3 separate regions of the Homo sapiens genome follow, and all the other regions are linked to region 2. The links are contacts of gene promoters, found by promoter capture Hi-C in human tissues and cell types (Jung and others, 2019). All regions are on one chromosome and are shown on one strand. Each heading gives the region's core, a stretch centred on a gene start or on the middle of the fragment in contact. The rest is flanking DNA. Distances are from core to core; before and after follow the strand shown.

The links. Contacts are between HindIII fragments. The study calls those that stand out against the background at their distance.
Region 1: a fragment that was not itself captured here is called in contact with the fragment with the promoter of ABCA12 in region 2 in 2 of the 25 tissues and cell types used here (pancreas and spleen).
Region 3: a fragment that was not itself captured here is called in contact with the fragment with the promoter of ABCA12 in region 2 in 2 of the 25 tissues and cell types used here (mesendoderm cells and spleen).

The regions. Positions count from the first base shown.
Region 1 is chr2:214,953,639-214,957,475 of GRCh38, reverse strand. ABCA12 (ATP binding cassette subfamily A member 12) reads left to right here. Exons shown (of 53, transcript NM_173076.3): 42 at 698-813; 43 at 2,115-2,274; 44 at 3,369-3,622. All of the region lies in intron 3 of SNHG31 (small nucleolar RNA host gene 31), which reads right to left. Among named protein-coding and RNA genes, the nearest start is that of SNORA70I, 110 kb to the right of the region's middle. The HindIII fragment of the contact is 3,531 bases long and covers 1-3,485 here.
Region 2 is chr2:215,136,985-215,141,346 of GRCh38, reverse strand. ABCA12 (ATP binding cassette subfamily A member 12) reads left to right here and starts at 2,721. Exons shown (of 53, transcript NM_173076.3): 1 at 2,721-3,207. The coding sequence starts at 3,139. The HindIII fragment of the contact is 12,690 bases long and covers 1-4,362 here.
Region 3 is chr2:214,917,211-214,921,244 of GRCh38, reverse strand. The region is part of intron 2 of SNHG31 (small nucleolar RNA host gene 31); the gene reads right to left. Among named protein-coding and RNA genes, the nearest start is that of SNORA70I, 72 kb to the right of the region's middle. The HindIII fragment of the contact is 5,514 bases long and covers 1-4,034 here.

The DNA.
Region 1 (3,837 bases), core at 471-2,970, 180 kb after region 2:
ATGTTAAGAAAATTTCAAGTACATACTTCTGTGAAGGTCTACTTAGTACTTTAGGATTCTGTTGTCTTATATCTGGAGCTCATTCCAATTTAGGAGATTCCTCCCCACCCTGCAAATTAAGTTACCACCACCTTCATTGTGTCCATCTTCCTGCAAACTCCTCAGCATTTAATAAATATTTCTACTTGCCAACAAAATGCTAAGTTCTTTGTTCGTATACCTGTGATTATGAGGATATGTGGGACCTGATGCCCTGCTGCTTTGCACAGAGTGGTTCACACTGATAACCAAGCTTTAGAAATCAACCATCTGAGAAAGTTCCAGCATTCAAAACGAAATCAATACTTTGAGGACTGAATGTAATACCAAGATACCTGGCTGTCTTATCTTTCTCACTGAACCTCTGTCACTGAACCATCCCAAGTCTCAAAGCCTAGAGGCAGGAACACCAGGGACTCCTTGTATATCTGTTAAAGATGGAGATTGGCTTAACCTCATATTGCAGGAGACAAATTCTAAAGTGAAATCAATGTAAAATAAGTTGAATGTTAGAAGCAATGGGAACATAAATAAGAATTCATTTCTTCAAATTTTTCTAGGTCAACTTGTTGCAGTTTTAAACTAGATGGGTTATTGATTTTTTTTTTTTTGAAAAATGCTTGTCACGTATTAAACATTGTTTTGAATATTTCCATAGGTTTTCTACTTGGTGCCTGTAGCGTTTTCAATTGGTATCATTGCGATTTTCAAATTACCTGCATTCTACAGTGAAAACAACCTAGGCGCTGTATCTCTCCTACTTCTCCTGTTTGGGTAAGCTGCTGATTAAGCAATGAAAGAAGAATTAATAGAATTAAATGCCCCTAGACACAAATAGGACTTAAATCTCATTAGCTAAATTACAATTGTCTTGGGGTTTCATTTGACATGAGTGATGACTAACAACACATTGCACTTGCTAGTCCATAGACTGCAAAGTATAATACTTTTGAAAATTAATGTTGTTATTAATAGTAATACCTAAAATTAATAAGCATTTATTGGGTGCCAAGTGTCATGCTTTCTAATTTACATATGTGATCTCATTTACATAAAAATGAAAGCTTTAGAATGATGAGAAAATGTGTATACATGTATAAATTTATGTATTGACTATATGAGTATATGTAGCATTATGAAGTGCATATACCTTCATGTATACTTACTTATATTTATCTTTTTATAGATGTATAAGGACACACACATAATATTGTTTCTATCTTAAGCTAATACAGGTAACACAGGCTGATATAATCAATGCTTAGCATAACAAATCTTTCTGCCCTGAATACATGGTAGTAACCCTTAATTAGCAATTGTAGCTAATGCAGGAACTCTGTCTCTAGATCTATTTAATTGCCCCCCAAATTGCTCAAGGTTTTGCTCAAAACAGGCTAGCCAGCTTCTAAGCATGCTCTTTCTGCTCAGCTAGACTTGAACAGTGTCATTACTTTTCCTCAACTTTAAATTATAAGATTTATACTGATTAAACTCATATTTCTGAGCAACCTAAAAGGCTTGCCTAGGCGGGATAATACCATATTCAGGAGGGATTAATTTGTAGTTTTAATGATGTAGAACTACTCAAGGTTTCTTAAAGAGGCTTTTTACTGTCTTTAAAAAAAACTCTTTGGATTTTTTTTGTCAAAAAGGAATGAAAGAGAGATCTAGTTAGAAGGCTTGACAACTCATCCCTAATGGTTATTTTTACTTTGGAAGCCCATCTAAATTGTTATTTTTTGTAAAATAGAATAATTAAGGCATTTCTTTTCTGAGACAGGATCTCACTCTGTCACCCAGGCTGGAGTGCAGTGGCATGATCACAGCTCACCACAGCTTGATCCTCCGACCTCAGCCTCCCAAATAACCAGGGCTACAGGTGCGTGCCACCGCACCTGGCTGATTTTCATATTTTTCTGTAGAGACAGGGTTTTGCCAAGTTGCTCAGGCTGGTCTCAAACTCCTGGGCTCAAGTGATCCACCTGCCTCAGCCTCCTAAAGTGTTAGGATTACAGGTGTGAGCCACCATGCCTGGCCGAGGCGTAATTTTAATTCTTTGTGTTTTTAACCTGCAGGTATGCAACATTTTCCTGGATGTACTTGCTGGCTGGGCTCTTCCATGAAACAGGAATGGCCTTCATCACTTACGTCTGTGTCAACTTGTTTTTTGGCATTAATTCCATTGTTTCCCTGTCAGTGGTATACTTTCTTTCCAAGGAAAAGCCTAATGATCCGGTAAGGTCCCTTATTTCAGTGAATTTATCAAAAGCTTCAACATGTTCCAGGTGGAAAGATTTTATTTATTCTACATAAAAAAGAAGAATATCATTTGATTCTATTAAATTTGGGAGAGGAGAAACTACAGCTTTTAAAATTCTTTTTGGGCCTCATCTAAGTTAATGCCTATCATTGTATGTATTGAGCGTCAAAACTATTGACACCTGATAGGGCTTGAATGTGGTGACAGAGGTGAAATCAGATGTATTGTGCGGCACTACATAAATCACGCAACCATTGGTCAGCTAAACATCTTACTCATTAACAAGTTCTTATGGTATGGTGGTGACAAGGACAACGACTTAGTTATATGACTGTGAGCTTTGATTCATTTGAACATTCATAGAGAAAAAACCTAATTCATCCCCTTTCAATCATGTATTGGAGACTACTTCATTGTAAGCATCACTTTCCATTCAGAGCTGACAATTACGATTAGTGAGAAGAGAAGCACTAACAGTGTCAGGCAATTGAACAGAAAAGAATAGAGAGGAAATGAAGTGAACTGAGGACTAGACAAGCATACTCTGGGAGAAGGAAGAAAATTCATGAAGTGGAAGTAGTTGGCCCACGTGTGAATAATGTGAAAATGAGCTATTTGTCCCTCTTCGAGACATGTTGGCTCTTCTTCTACCTCATTTCAGCATTTTAGTCCCTCTCCAAGTAGGGATTACCTTGGGTTCCAAAACTTTACTGTACCAAGTACCTCCCTCCCTCAGGCACATAATGATACCGTGTAACAGACCCCAACACACTGGCTAGCCCTACATTCCTGGGATTAAAGGTAGGTCTAGAAATAATTTTGCCTCCAGGATTAGGTCCAACATTATAGGTGGCCTCATATAATGATTTTCTGCTTGTATTTCAGTGATAAACATCCACCATTTAGTATACTAAATATTTGTATGCAAATTCAGCCTATATGGGAAATAATTGCCAATCTAGATAAGCTTTTTAGGTTTCACTATTTGTCTACATCCATCTAGTTTTAAATTTTTGTCAGCTTTTTGGAAACTTAACACTGAGTTTTATTTTTATTTCTCTTATTTCAGACTTTAGAACTTATTTCTGAAACCCTCAAGCGCATTTTCCTGATTTTCCCACAATTCTGTTTTGGCTACGGTTTGATTGAACTTTCTCAACAACAGTCGGTCCTAGACTTCTTAAAAGCATATGGAGTGGAATACCCAAATGAAACCTTTGAGATGAATAAACTAGGTGCAATGTTTGTGGCTTTGGTTTCTCAGGGCACCATGTTTTTTTCCTTGCGACTCTTAATCAACGAATCCCTGATAAAGAAACTCAGGTAAATATAATGAAAACATAACGTTTGACATCTAAAACAGAACTCAATTCAACCTATTGAGAAAGAAGTCAATAGTCTAAGCTTTTCCATTGGTAATATGGAAATGTTTGGCTCAAAAACTTTTAAAAAATTCTAGCATAATTCACTATTTATTTTATTCTAGTAAGTAGTTATCAAATCTTAATATGTGACTGCAACTATTGCTGTTGAGTGAG
Region 2 (4,362 bases), core at 1,472-3,971:
TGCTTTATTAGGGCCTGTTGGAGAACAGGTTTTGCAGACACAGAAACCTGGGTTCAAATTAATGTTCTGACACCCATTATCTGTGTGACCTCAGGAAGCTACTTGTCCTATGCATCTTCACGTATACAGCAGGTAAAATAATGTTGACCTCACAGGTCCTGTATGCAATGAGTATCCCATAGCACCTTAATGTAAAAGTCAGTTGATGGTAAAACAAACAAACAAACAAAGTTGTCACTGATGCTATACACAACAACCAGTGCTGAGACAAAGGAGTAAAATTATAATCTGGTTGCTGTTAAAATTTCTGAACTGTTTTACATCATCACTAACTCAATTCACTTGTTTTTTCTATTCAAAAACAGGGTTTCAAGTCTCAACTTCAATCAGTTTCTCATTCTACTAACATTTTCATCATCCCACAGCATCGGCTTTATCATACTCTATCTCTTAAGAAGAGTTTCCAGGAACTTTTCATTTTAAATCCGCAATATGACATCTCCTCCTCTTTGGCTTTAGGTCCCTAACTCTCCAACTTTATCTTCTACTACTTCAGACCAGCTCTTAGATTTAGTTGGGTCAGAATTCTCACCATTCAGGAATACAGAATTTATCTCAAAATTGTGGTGTTCCATGAGACTTGGTCCCTGTACTCAAGGGGCTCAGAGTATGGACAGAGAGACAGACTGACTATACTAGAAGGTAATAAGGGAGTTGGCTATCTGTGCGAACAAAGCTTTATGGGAAAACAGATGAAGGGGTGATTAATTCAGCCGGGGGTGGGGGTGTGGTGGGTGGAAGTGCTGGAAAAGGCTTCAGAGGGGAAGTTACACTTGAGTCAGTCATTTGAGAATGAGCACAATTTCATTTTGGGCAGAGGGAACAGCATGACCAAAGCCTGAAAGTGAACAGTCCTCATCTAAAGTATTCTAGCAGATGGCAGGAGGGAGGGCTGAAGGTGGAGAGACAACTGATGAAGCTGGCAAGAGCCAGGCTGGGAAGTGCCGTGAGGCTCTATGAAGAAGCCTAAAAGAGCAGCCTTCCTTCTCCTGAATTCCTGGAGCAACTACTCTTTGTGAACTCATTTTGGCCATAATTTTTCATGCGTGTACTTACAAAAAAATCTCTACAAGTGATTTATAGACCTGCCTAGAGAAACAGGGAAAATCCCTGATGTTCATTTGTTTCTCAGCTCTTCCTGTGAAGTGTAATACATGGGACTGGAGAAAACATAGCACAGAGATTAACAGTACAGAAACGAGGTTCGAGTTCCTTCTCTGCTGTTCCCACTGTCCTCACTGCTAACTAGGTGAAATCCAGCAAGTTATGGCACTTCTAAATATCACTTTCTTTCACTGAAAATGGGAATAATGACAGTTTCTATATAATAGGACTCCTAGGATGATTCAATAAGTCCTTAGCAAACATTGCTACCCAATTAATAGAATTAATTGACTACTTACTATGAGGCAGGACCTGTGCTAGATTCCTTTTTTTGGAGGGGGGATGGAATCTCACTCTTTTGCCCAGGCTGGAGTGCAGTGGCGCCATCTCAGCTCACTGCAACCTCTGCCTCCCGGTTTCAAGCGATTCTCCCTCCTCAGCCTCCCAAATAGCTGGGATTACAGGTGCCCACCACCATGCCTGGCTAATTTTTGTGTTTTTAGTAGAGACGGGGTTTCACCATGTTTGCGAGGCTGGTCTTGAACTCCTGACCTCAAGTGATCAGCCCGTCTCGGCCTCCCAAATTGCTGGGATTACAGGCATGAGCCACCGCACCTGGCGAAGGGAGAACTCTTAATGCTTTAACGGATTTTGCAAGTAAAGTCTGGATTAGTCAGGGTAGGTGTGAGGATCAAAGGGGAGCTTCACCCTACTAGCCTTGGCTCCAGTAGTTTATTCAATTACATTCAGCAGCAAGTATTGAACACTAATGATATGTAAAGTACTGTGATATAAAATAGTCCATGTCCTCAAATAATTTATAATCTTGTAGGAAAAATAAGACATACACAAATAAAAATAATGCAAAAACTTTAAGTTCCTTGAGAGAGGGCAACAAAGAATGATTCAAAGGCAAGAGAATCTATCCTATGGGATATATCCAAAAAGGCTTCATTGAAGATGTCAACTTGGGGATAACTTTGAAAGGCAGGATCTTAGAGAGGGAGGAATGTATCATGGAAAGAGGAAATAGAAATGTCTTGGATCAGCCTGTGTCCCCTTTCACTATAAGAGCCTGAAACAATGTGGCTTGTCTGTAATAGACACGTGAATCTCCACTCACGAATTGAGGGACTCCAGTTTGTAATTTATGTCCCCTACAGCCTACCTTTCCTTTTCTGCCCTGTGCTTAACCTAGTACATTGTGATGAAAGGTGGGACCTGGCCAACATAGTTTCTTCCCCCAAAATCGAAACATTCAACTTTAGGTTAAAGGTGGACACTTTCCCTAGTATATCTAATGATGGGCTGAGGCTCAGAGCTTTGCAGCTAAGCTCTGGCCTTATTGACTTAAATCATTTTAATGACACTTTAATATTAAAGAGTCACTGGGCCCAGTGTCTGTGAAATGCTCTCTGTGCCCTGCCTCTGCTAGAGCAGACACTGTGTGCAGGAAAGAAGACAAGAGAATGTAGGACAAGTCCTACTGGCCTTGCAAAGGTCCCACCCCCTAGTCCCTGTGACGCATCCAGTGCAGGTGACATGTTCTCTAAGGTGTGGATAGGCAATTAATTTCATGGAGAGTAGGAGGTGTGGGTTCAGCTGCTGCTTTTTTTTTTTTTTCAGTGAGGCATTATCTGAATGATGCTCATTCTCTCTTGAGTCTGGACTTCGTGCAACAAGCAGCAACTGGATATTATTTTAAAATAAGCATAAGCCACCCAAAGATACTGATCTGGGTCCTTCTTTTGGAAGAAGAGTTGATTGAGAAGTGCCTCTTGGTTAAGGATTAACCACAGGGAAAAATCCAGCAGAAACAGAAGAACTGTGGGTTTCTTACCCCAGCCCTCAAGGAAGCTATGCCGTGAAAGGGGTACTGATACACTGACATACAGCAAGTTGGACGGGGCATCAGTTCTTCATTTGTGGAGTGGAGAAAAGAAGAGGAAATCTCTCATTTGGGGCATTTGAAGGATGGCTTCCCTGTTTCATCAGCTTCAGATCCTGGTCTGGAAAAATTGGCTAGGTGTAAAAAGGCAGCCGGTGAGTTAAAAAAAAGTGTGGGAGTATGGGTCATGGGGCAATACGCCAGGTAATCCTAAAATGTGATCTTAATGAGAAGTGAAAACAGAAGAGTTTAAAGGCATTTTCCAAAGCAGGAAGTAAGATATTTAGAATTCATCCCCCTATCTGTCTTATAGCTAATGGAGCGAGTCTTAACATGCCCCCAAAAGCAGCCTTTTCATTTCAGTAAATTAAAGAGTAAACCAGGACATGCCCTGGGCAAAAAAAAAAGAACATGACTCATTACTGGCTGAACTGGAACGTTGAATTCTGGTTTCAAGCCAAAAGGCTTTCAGAATTTTTCTTAATGTAGTTAAAAATGGGATAGAGGAAAGAAAAGTATTATTTGAAATGTACAATAAATGGGAAGAAATATACTGGAAAACTGAAAGCCATAGAAAGTTTGGTTGAAAGGTAAAATACAGAACAGAAATAGTTTGAAGGCTATTAGTATAGAAAAGCTACTGAGAAATTTTAGTATCTAAAAATCATTTACTGGGAATACCAAACAAGAGTATGTATATGTGCTATGTTTTAAGAATATTATTGAATCACTTAGCTTTACTACTACAATCTATCTTCTCTTGCTCATTGCAACGTCTTTTTTGTACTCTTACATTAATGTTTGCGTTCTAATTACAAAGTTAGCTATTAGATCCTCATCAGATGGCTCCCAGGATGATTGAGAAAGGAATTGGTTTCTGGGAGTTGTTATATATTCAGAAGAATGTTTGAAAATCGGGGAAATCCAAAAAGGTATTCAATATACTTTATTTTAAAGTGGTAATTCCCAGCCTTGAATGAGTAATGTAAATATTATGCAAATAATATGCATCACACAGAAACCAGCACTTTATCTATGCACCTTATCTCGCTCCAGGCTTGCTTGGATTGCCTGACACTTTACTTGAGTGTTTTGATGTGTGTAGTAAGAGGAGGAAGTAGATGTTCATTTACCCTTGTGAATTTTGTGGGTAGGGTTTTAAAATTCTAAGGCATGTGATTGCATGGGTGTGGGGTTTGAATATAAAATTATAAACTCATTCATGTTTTTATTTGTTTTTTAACTGGAAAAAAAAAAGCACAGAAGAAAACCTCCCCATAATTATCATGTGGTTGATTCTGTGTGGCATA
Region 3 (4,034 bases), core at 827-3,326, 220 kb after region 2:
TATTCCTCTCTGTTTAAGGCACTAACTCTTTGGTTGACTTTCTGCTAATTATTTCACTGTGGTAAAATACACCTAAGATTTATGATCTTAATCATTTTTAAGTGTACAATTAACTGGTATTAAATACATTTATAATGCTGTACAACCATCACCATCTGTCTCTACAACTATTTTCATCCTGTAAAACTGAAACTATACTCATTCAACAATAATCTCCTTTCTCCCCTCTCCAACTCAACAATCACCATTATACTTTCTTTCTTTATGATTTTGACTACTCCAGCTACTTAATATAAGTGGAATCATATAGTATTTGTCTTTCTGTGGCTGGCTTATTTCACTAAGCATAATATCCTCAAAGTTAATCCACGTTGTGGTATATGTCAGAATTTCCTTCCTCTTTAAGGCTAAATAGTATTCCATTGTATGTATATACTACATTTTGCTTATCTGTTCATTGGTCAACGAATACCCGAGTTGCTTCTACCTCTTGGCTGTTGTTAATAATGAACATGGATGTACAAATATTTCTTCAAGACCCTTCTTTCAATTCTTTGTAGTATATACCCAGAAACGGAATTGCTGAATCATATGAATTATCACATAATTATATTTTTAATTTATAATACTGTTTCCACACACAACAATAGCATTTTTCATTCCCATCAACCCTGCACTAGGGTTCTATTTACTCCACATCTTTACCAACAATTATTACAATTATTATATTCTGGTTTTTTTGGTAGTAGCCATCCTAATGGGTGTAAGGTGGTATCTCATTGCAACTTTGATTTGCATTTCCTTAATGATTAGTGATGTTGAGCATCTTTTCATGATTTTTGTTTGTTTGTTTTTGGTTTTGGTTTTGGTTTTTGAGATGGAGTCTCACTTTGTCGCCCAAGCTGGAGTGCAGTGGCACGATCTTTGCTTATCTCAAGCTCCGCCTCCCAGGTTCACGCCATTCTCCTGCCTCAGCCTCCTGAGTAGCTGGGACTACAGGTGCCCACCACCACGCCAGGCTAACTTTTTGTATTTTTAGTAGAGACAGGGTTTCATCGTGTTAGTCTGGATGGTCTCGATCTCCTGACCTCGTGATCTGCCTGCCTCGGCCTCCCAAAGTGCTAGGGTTACAGGCATGAGCCACCGCGCCCAGCCCTGTTCATGTTTTTATTAGCTATTTTTATATCTTCTTTGGAGAAATGTTTATTCAAGTCTTTTGCTCATTTTTGAATTGGGTTGTTTGTCATTGAGCTGTAGAAGATCTCTATACAGTCTGGATACTAATCCCTTATAAAATATATTATTTACAAATATTTTCACTATTGTGTCAGTTGCCTTTTTACTCTGTTGATAGTGCCTTTTGATGCATGATTTTTAAAAATGTCCATGAAGTTCAAATTTGTCTGTTTTTCCTTTTGTTTTCTATGCCTTTAATGTCATTGCCAAATTCAATGCTATGAAGCTTTTACTCAATGTTTTTTTTCCTAAGGACTTTATAGTTTTAGGACTGACATTTAGGTTCCTGATTCATTTTGAACTAATTTTGTATTCCAACTTCTTTCATTTGCATATGGATATCTAGTTTTTCCAACACCATTTGTTGAAAAGACTATTCTTTCCCCACTGAATGGACTTGGCACCCTAGTCAAAAATCATTTGATCATATATGTGAGGGTTTACTTCTAGGTTCCCTATTCTGTTCCATGGGTCTGTATACCTGTCTTTATGCCAGTTCCACATTGTTTGATTACTGTCGCTTTGTAGTAAGTTTTGAAACCAGGAAGTGTGAATCCTCCAGTTTGGTTTGTCTTTTTCAAGGCTGTTTTGGCTATTTGGGACCCCTTGAGAGTCTGTATGAATTTTAGGTTGGCGTTTTTTATTTCTGCAAAAAAATGTCATTGGGATTTTGATAGGAATTGCGTTGAATCTATAGATAGATTTGGGTAGTGTTGACATCTTAACAATAGTAAGTTTTCCAGTCTATGAACATGAGATGTGCTTCCAATTACCTGTATCTTTACTTTTTCAGCACTGTTTTATAGTTTTCATTGCACAAGTCTTTCTCCTTCTTGGTTAAGTTGGTTTCTAAGTATTTTATTCTTTTTGATGCTATCTAAGTCCATTTTGGCTTCCCGAACAAAATATTTTAGACTAAATAATTTATAAACAATAGAAATGTATTGCTCACAGTTCTAGAAGCTGAGAAGTCAAAGATCAAGGTGCCAGCAGATTCATAGGTATCTGTTGGCAGCCTACACTTCATAGATGACACTTTCTTGCTAGTCCTCATATGACACAGAAGACAAATAAGCTCCCCTAGGCCTCTTTTACAAAGACATTAATCCCATTTATGAGGGCTTTGCCCTTATGACTTAATCACCTTCCAGATGTCCCACCTCTCAGCTCCACTGCGCTGATTGTTAAATTTCAACACATGAATTTTGGAGGGACACGAACATTCAGATCATAGTAGGTGTTACTGTAAACAGAATTGTTTTCTTTCCTTTCTTTTTCTTTCTTTCTTTTTTTTTTTTTTTTTGAGATGGAGTTTTGCTGTTGTCATCCAGGCTGGAGTGCAGTGACACAGTCTCAGCTCAGTGCAACCTCCACCTCCCGGGTTCAAGCAATTCTCCTGTAATTGGGATTATAGGTGCCTGCTACCATGCCCAGCTAATTTTTGTATTTTTAATAGAGACAGGATTTCACCATGTTGGCCAGGCTGGTCTCGAACTCCTGATCTCAAGTGTTCCTCCCGCCTCGGCCACCCAAAGTGCTGGGATTATAGACATGAACCAATGTGCCAGGCCTAAAATTGTTGTCTTAATTTCTTTTCCAAATTGTTCATTACTAATATATTGAAATCTAACTTAGTTTTGTGTTTACTTTCCATCCTGCTACTTTGCTGAACTCACTTATTAGTTCTAACAGGATTTTTTTTATGTGAAAATTTTAGGTTTTCTACGTATAATATCATCCGCAAGCAGAGATAATTTTACTTCTTCTTTTCTAATTTGCATGCCTTTTCTTCCCCTTGCTTAATTGTTCCAGCTAGAATTTCCAGTACTACATTGAGTAGAAGTGGTAAAAGCCTGTGTGATTGACTCTTGTCGACATCTATGCTATTGTTACAAATCACAGAAGGTCAGCTTCTGTATCTGTTCACATTTTGCCAGCCACTGATGAACTAATCTAGATTTAATAATAGTTAACAATTACATAAGTATAAAATTTCACTTTTTATGAAAAAACTTTACATGTTTAAAATCATTTGAACCTCATAGCAACCCTGTGCAGTATTACTGCCCCTAGATGGGAACAAGTATCAAAGGGGTTAAATAATTGATTTATAGCAAAAAAGATGATATATTAAATTATGGTATTAAGCTATATTTTTTATCTGCCCTAAATTCTATCCCAACCTTTTTCTTTTCTTTCCTTTTTTTTTTTTTGAGACAGGGTCTCACTCTGTTGCCCAGGCTGGAGTGCAATGGCGTAATCTCAGCTCACTGCAATCTCCGCCTCCCAGGCTCAAGTGATTCTCAAGCTTCAGCCTCCCAAGTAGCTGGGATTACAAACACGGACCACCATGCCCATCTAATTTTTGTATTTTTAGGAGAGATGGGGTTTTACCATGTTAGCCAGGCTGGTCTCCAACTCCTGACCTCAAATCCAGCTCCTGACCTCAAATGATCTATCTGCCTTGGCCTCCCAAAGTGCTGGGATTACAGGTGTGAGCCACCATGCCTGGCCCCTAGTCTCTTTTCTTATTTCTGTGGTTCCCTTGTTCCCATTCCAGGTTGTCTCAATGAAGCTGGTGACTATGGTGGCCCCTCTTCATCCCAGCAATTAGGTGTGCATATGACCCTAGATGGCCAGAGCATCTTAATTCTCTTAACCACTTTGATTAGTTTAGAGATTGACACAAGACTCTAGCAAAGTTAGTCAATCATTCCTGAATTAATATTTAAATTTTGGAAGAGACATTTCCTTCTCATGGGATTGCTGAACTGAGAGAAGACAAGTCTAGGACAAGT